Linked DNA regions of Homo sapiens: region 1 is linked to region 2. Evidence: promoter capture Hi-C in 16 types of primary human blood cells and fetal thymus (Javierre and others, 2016). All regions are on one chromosome and are shown on one strand. The core of a region is centred on a gene start or on the middle of the fragment in contact, and the rest is flanking DNA. Distances in the headings are between cores, read along the strand shown. Region 1 has its middle 7.5 kb from the start of LINC02683. Region 2 holds the start of PTH (parathyroid hormone).

Region 1 (3,015 bases), core at 266-2,765, 420 kb after region 2:
GATCGTTTTTGGCAGTGTGGTCATTTTCACAATATTGATTCTACCCATTCATGAGCAGGAATGTGTTTCCATTTGTGTCATCTATGATTTCTCTCAGCAGTGTTTTGTAGTTTTCCTTGTAGAGGTCTTTCACATCTTTGGTTAGGTGTATTCCTAAGTATTTTATTTTTCTTGCAAGTATTGTGAAAGGGGTTCAGTTCGTGATTTGATTCTCAGCTTGGTCTCAGTTGGTGTATAGCAGAGCTATTGATGTGCGTACATTGATTTTGTATCCTGAAAGCTTTGCTGAATTCATTTACCAGTTCTAGGAGGTTTTAGGTTGAGTCTTTAGGGTTTTCTAGGTATACGATCATATCATTAGCCAACAGTAGCCCTTTTGTCTTGTTCCAGTTCTCAGGGGGAATGCTTTCAACTTTTCCTCTTTCAGTATAAGGTTGGCTTGTCACAGATGGCTTTTATTACCTTAAGGTATGAGATGTGGTAAATTTTGAGATGTCTATTAAACATCCAAATGAAGATGTCTGCATAACAGTTGAAAATACGTGTCTGGAGTTTAAGAGAGAGGTGAATGAAAACATCTCACTATAAAAAACAGAGGAGAAATCCTAGGGTTTTCTCTATTTGTAATTTAATAACTCCTGGTCTTGACCCTATCAGCTCCAGGGCAAAGACCTGAAGATGAAAAGTAATGGCGTGTTTGAGACACTAAAAGATACTCAGTGTGGGTGAATGTGGAATGTGGGGGGAAAATGGATCAAGAGGATCATAATTAGCTTGGACTTTGTTCAGGTGAGAATAGGAGGCCATAAAAGGGTTTAAAGGAGAGAAGATGTGTGCTTTAGCGAGAGGACTCAATCAGTCATGAAGACTAAATTGAAGAGCAAGGCTGTAGGCAAGAGGCCTGACCAGAAGCTGCTTCAGTAGCTCAGGTGAAAAAGACTGGAGGCTTTTACCAAGGCAGTGGGAAAAGATGGAGATAAGCAAGTGGGTTCCAGTTATATTTGGATTTAGAATCAGCAGGGCTTAGGGAGTGATTGGAAATAAAGGGTGGGCAAAGAGTGTGAAGGGAATTGAGGGTTCCAGGTTTCTGGCTTAGATGGCAGTGCCACTTACCAAAATGGAGATGAAGGAAGAGAAGCTGATTTGGTAAGGCCGAGGGTGAGTTTAGTTTTGCATATATTGTGCTCAAGGTGACTGGAAAATCCAAACTATACAGTTGAGTGTGTGCATCTTAAACCCCTGGGTAAAATCTGAACTGTGCATATTTGGGATACACACACAATACACACACCCACACAAAACAAAGAGTGTGTGTGCGTGTGTATGTGTTGTGTGTGCATATCCCAAACATGTGCAGATGAGGTCATCCAGGGCTAGTGTAGAGCATGCAAAGACAAAAAGACAAAACCCCAAGGAACCCTACATTATCCATATGCACGTCTAATTCATCTTTTTAACAACCCCATGAGTTAAATTTTATCTTTTCTGATGCAAATCAATGAGAATGACTGAAGTGAGTCACAATCATTTCAGAGGTTTATTTTGCCAAGGTTGAGGACATACCTAAGAAAAAGGAACACAAAACCACAGGAACATCTGTGATCTGTGCTTTTTCCAAAGAGGGTTTGGGAACTTCAGCTTTTAAAGGGGAAAGAGTGGGCAGTAGGGGAAAGAGAAGTGAAAAAAGAAGGAGAAGGTTAGATAAAAGGGGGAAGCAGTGTCATTGTTTTGAGTCTTTGATCAGCCTTCACTGAATCCATGTTTTACATGTAAAAGGAGGGGATCGAGGAAGAGTCAGTTATGCATTCATCTCATGCTCTGTGAATCTGCATTGTTACATAAGATGAAGTAAACATAGAGTAGAGGAAGCAGTCAAACATGCATTCATCTCAGGTGAATGGAGAGATGACTTCTGGTTCTGTCCTTGGTTCTATATCCGTGAAGATAAGCTGTTAATTTACATTGTCAAGGTGAAATTCAACAGAACTGATTTAGGGTAAAGATCTTGGGGCCCACAAGGAATTGCCTTGTGAGCAAATTGTGAGGGAGGTATGTAGCCTTTTATCTTTGTAACTATCTATTTAAGAACAAAATGGGGGGAAGTTTGGATTGACTCAGTCCCCAAGTTTGACCTTTCCCTTTGGCATAGTGAGTTTGAGGGTCCTGAGATTTTAATTTTCCTTTCACACTGTTTTCTCCACAGCTGAATGATGAAACAACCATAGGCATTTCCCAGTTCCCGGCCTCAGGAGGCCTATTTGTGTAACATCTGGGACCCTTTGCCAAATCAGCTTACATGTGGGTTATACATTTATTACACGAGGCATCCCTGCTGTGTGTAAAGCACATGAAGAAATCTTGAATACTGTCATGAAGCCTCCTTAAAAATGCTAGTATGAAGTATCCTACACAGGTTAAAATTAGAACCCTCCCTCCCATTTTTGCAATCTTTGGGTAAGGATATTTGGGCTGACACTGCAGTTTAGATTGAAAGCCAAGAAAGTTATCAACATGGTAAAAGTCAAGTTATAGGACCCCAGAGATCAGACAGGACGTGGAAGTCTTCATACATGAAAATAGTCTTTGGTCCACAAAGGTGAGAAAAGTAATAAAATTCCCACAGGTTTCTTCTAGTAAGATAATTGGTCAGAAGAAAATATCACAAATGCAAGGTATTGTGCTATTATTTTAGCACCTTTCTTGTAGGAATACATAGGAAGAAATGTAAAATATTCCTATAGAATCTTTAGAGAAGCTTTCCATGTGGGCTGATCCCAAGTACTAGGACAGAATACAGGCTTTTGAAAGGAGCTTTTAAAAATAATAGATAAGTGTTTTTTCTTTTGAAAATTGTTATATTGTGTGGTTTTAAAATATTTAAAATCTCCAAACAGAAATCCACTGAAGTGCAATAATTTTATTGTAGGATAGACTGAAAACAATATTTAACCCAGCAACTGGGCATCAAAGTGAGAAAGATTATATGCTAGAATGGCACAGGGAACGTGTTCCATG
Region 2 (3,405 bases), core at 686-3,185:
TTTTCCAGAAAAATAATTCATGTTTTTTTTTTCTTCTCATTGCTAAGCTCACTTAGAAAAATTAGGCACCATTTAAAAGACTTGGAGAACAGACCAGCGTGGCTTCTTGGGCACAGCTGGATGGTGCTGGAAGCCAGGCCTGGGATTTGGAGAGAAGAGTCTCCAACAGATAAACCCACGGAGGTCACCAGCCCTCCCTGCATCTACTCTCCTAACAGCTCAGGATGGCCCTGTTACACTACTGCCAGCCCTGGTGACTCGCTTTCTTAGCAATTTTTAAAGCCCTCTTCATTATGTACTTCCTACTTAAAATTCAGAACCTCTGTGATAAGCAATGCCTCTGTCATACAGAATGCTGGATCTCAGTTTACTGAGCCTCTCCCTGTAGTGTCACAGGCTGTGCACTCACCTAGATGAGCCCCTAAGAGCAGGGTTTGCTTCTGCTTCATCTAATGCCACATCTTCCCTCAAATGTGTGGTCACCAAATGTTCTGCAAAAAGGGTCTCTAGCTTTTTACTTTTCTTTTTGGCAAATTAAGCCCTTTAAAATACTTCTGACCTATCTTTATACTCAGATCTCACCTCATCTCAAGTTTTATGGGGTAATGCGCCAGTGAAAGGTACAGTGGTATTAGTGAGTTCTGAAGCTTCTAATTACATAGACAATAGAGGCTGGCTGGTGAGCCATGCTTCTCATGCTCCCTTCTGTCACACTGCAGAAATCTTAAGCTACAAGAGGAATGAAAGAGCCTATTTTTGAGAAATCCCCCCGCACTGCATTTTATGTTGATTATACCTAAATGTTTATAACTTGCTTGAAAATGCCTAATTTTCTTCATAGTGTAAATTGTTAACACTATTTACGTAGCAAATCCTTTTCTTAAGTAACCTTCATTTCAGGCATTGTAATAACCATAAATACCAAACTAATAGGTGCTAATCTAGAGATTTTCACTAAATTAATTCACATTTCTCCTAGCATTAAAAATAATGTGTCAAAGCATTTAAAAATCATCTGATTAATTACTTGTGATATGGATTTCGAGCTTTATCTCTGAATGGAATGCTTGTTTGTAGCTTATTTCTTCAACTTATTTTATTAACAATTATCTTTTAATATAACTTTTGTCTCTTTCCTCGTTTCACATCAGTATAGGATATTCTTGCCTTAATCTGCATTTCAGTACTTGCAAAGGCTGTTATTATAGAAGTGCTTTTCCTTAATGCTCAGTGTACTACCTTTTAACATACACATAGAGTAGTTATGTACTCCTATTTTACAGGGAAACTGCATCATTTAGAAATAGCATAGGAAATACTGTTTTCAGAATACAGCTGTCATTTATGTAAAGGAAATAAATATTTACTAGTCAAACTGGGCTTATCCAACTTTAGTATACAGATTGGGCTCTTTATGAGCCATAAAATAAATAATCTAGATAAGAATACTCTGCAGGAAAAACAGAATATTAACTCCACTTAATAAATTTATAAAGATTATTTAAATCAGAACTATTCATTCACCATCAACCTGTTTTATTTCAAAATTTTGACACCGATACTATTATATTAAAGCATAGCATGCCAAATTTTAATGATTTTTTGTTGTAATTTCAGATGAGGTTTTAAAAGGCAAGGTATCTCAGAAGACTTTAATCAAAAAGGATTTTGTGATTTGAGTAGCATTAATTTATTTTGTATGTGGCATTTTATATTAAACATAACTCAAACTTCTTAGCATTTTACCTTGAAGAAACAACATGGTATTTGTAGAAATGGTACACATTAAATAATAACTTGATTATCAAAATCTCATGAGATTCAGAAGTGAATTTTTAAGTTTACTTACCATACAATGTCTTAGAACAAGATCTTCGTTCAGGTATGTTAGTAGCTGATGCTGAGTAAACTAAAGACAACTGATGAATTGGACTGCAGACCCCTTAAATGGTGACTTTTATATATAGGTCTTCTGCTTACCAAGAGAGGCTCTTTTATTGTTACAGATGATGTCACTCCCAATTCTCTGGATCTCAACTATAGGTTCAAAGCAGCACATACACACACCCATTGGGCGGTGCACACTCTTCTTAAGTTTCAGATAATTGGATACTAAAAGGAAAACAGCATTTGGCTTGACAAGGGGCTTATGCAAAGACTTTTAACAAATACAGAATTATACCATCGAGAAAAATTCTATGTGGATTAATGAATCTGAATTTATACTGTAAAAAGACTGATTTCAAAGGTTTATGATAAAGTCATTATCTTACTTGAAAATAAAACCCAAAAATAAGTGTATTTGTTATAACCGTACTGTTGGTACAGTTTTTATGGTAATAAATCATAAATGTTAGGCTTACTTTACAAGCCATTTTCAACCAATCCATGTCACTTCTGGTCATCTTTCAAAAAACAGATATAGCCCTTTTCTTAAAGGAAGTGTTAAGAATAATTTGAGAAAATGCTCTTAGTACATAATTACTTTAAAAGCTTCAAAAGTGAAATTATTTTAAAATTTATTTAACTTATATTTTATTTGTGCATCTTAATCTATAATAATAACATTTGATAAGCACTAACTGCATGCCTAACTACATATATTATCCCACTAGATCTTCACAGCAGTCCTTTAAAGTTAGTACTTAAAGTACTAAAGTTAAGTGCTTATCCCCATTTTTACATGAGGAAACTTAGGCTTGGAAAGCAGAAAAGATGGAATTCAACAAAGGTCTTTATGACACCAGATTCTTACTACCTCAGTTTCTGCCTAGAAATACAGCCCTTCTTTGAACTCCAGTCTTCTTGACTTTAATTTGCAAAGTCATCTGAAAACACAGCAAAAGCTCTTTGCAACATTTTCCCCTAGGGGTTAGGTCTTTATTCTCATGTTCCCTAAGGGATGATGAGAGCCTGCTCCAAAACCTATTGGAGGCATGATGCTGCCACATGTCTGACTTCAAATATTCCTCCAGCAATATTTTCCTGGTCCACCTGTCAAAACACCCTGAATGTCTTTGATATATCTAGGACTCCTTTAGACAGCTTTGCCTTCCCACCAAAGATCCGGTGCCAGAGTGGGATCAGTTCTCTCAGCTCTGGTCCCATCCTGGCTTCATGTCATCCTTTTTCCTACTAGCCATTGTCAAGGTTTGACTCTACCTTAGGTAAGAGCCAGTACAAATTTGAATAGTAACCGTATGGAGTTTATAATGAGAGATATATACTAGTCCTGTCCTAGGAGATTCTCCACTCTGGGTTAACCTCACTTAGAGTGTTGCTCCAGGCTCCATTTTAGAAGCAGTAGAAACAAATGGGAACATACACTGAGGATATCAATCAGTTTGGTGAAAATGTTGAAAACTATAACATGAGAAGTAGTTGAATGAAACTAGAAAAGTCTGA

Evidence for each region. The method cuts DNA at HindIII sites, captures the fragments that hold promoters and counts their contacts. A CHiCAGO score of 5 or more calls a contact.
Region 1: a contact is called between a fragment that was not itself captured here and the fragment with the promoter of PTH in region 2, in 1 of 17 cell types (neutrophils). The highest score is 5.8, in neutrophils.

The regions. Positions count from the first base shown.
Region 1 is chr11:13,915,818-13,918,832 of GRCh38, forward strand. No RefSeq gene overlaps it. Among named protein-coding and RNA genes, the nearest start is that of LINC02683, 7.5 kb to the right of the region's middle. The HindIII fragment of the contact is 2,475 bases long and covers 279-2,753 here.
Region 2 is chr11:13,494,062-13,497,466 of GRCh38, forward strand. It overlaps PTH (parathyroid hormone), which reads right to left and starts at 1,936. Exons shown (of 3, transcript NM_000315.4): 1 at 1,850-1,936. RefSeq lists promoters at 1,869-2,619, 1,881-2,940, 1,933-2,095 and an enhancer at 2,310-2,331. The HindIII fragment of the contact is 1,846 bases long and covers 646-2,491 here.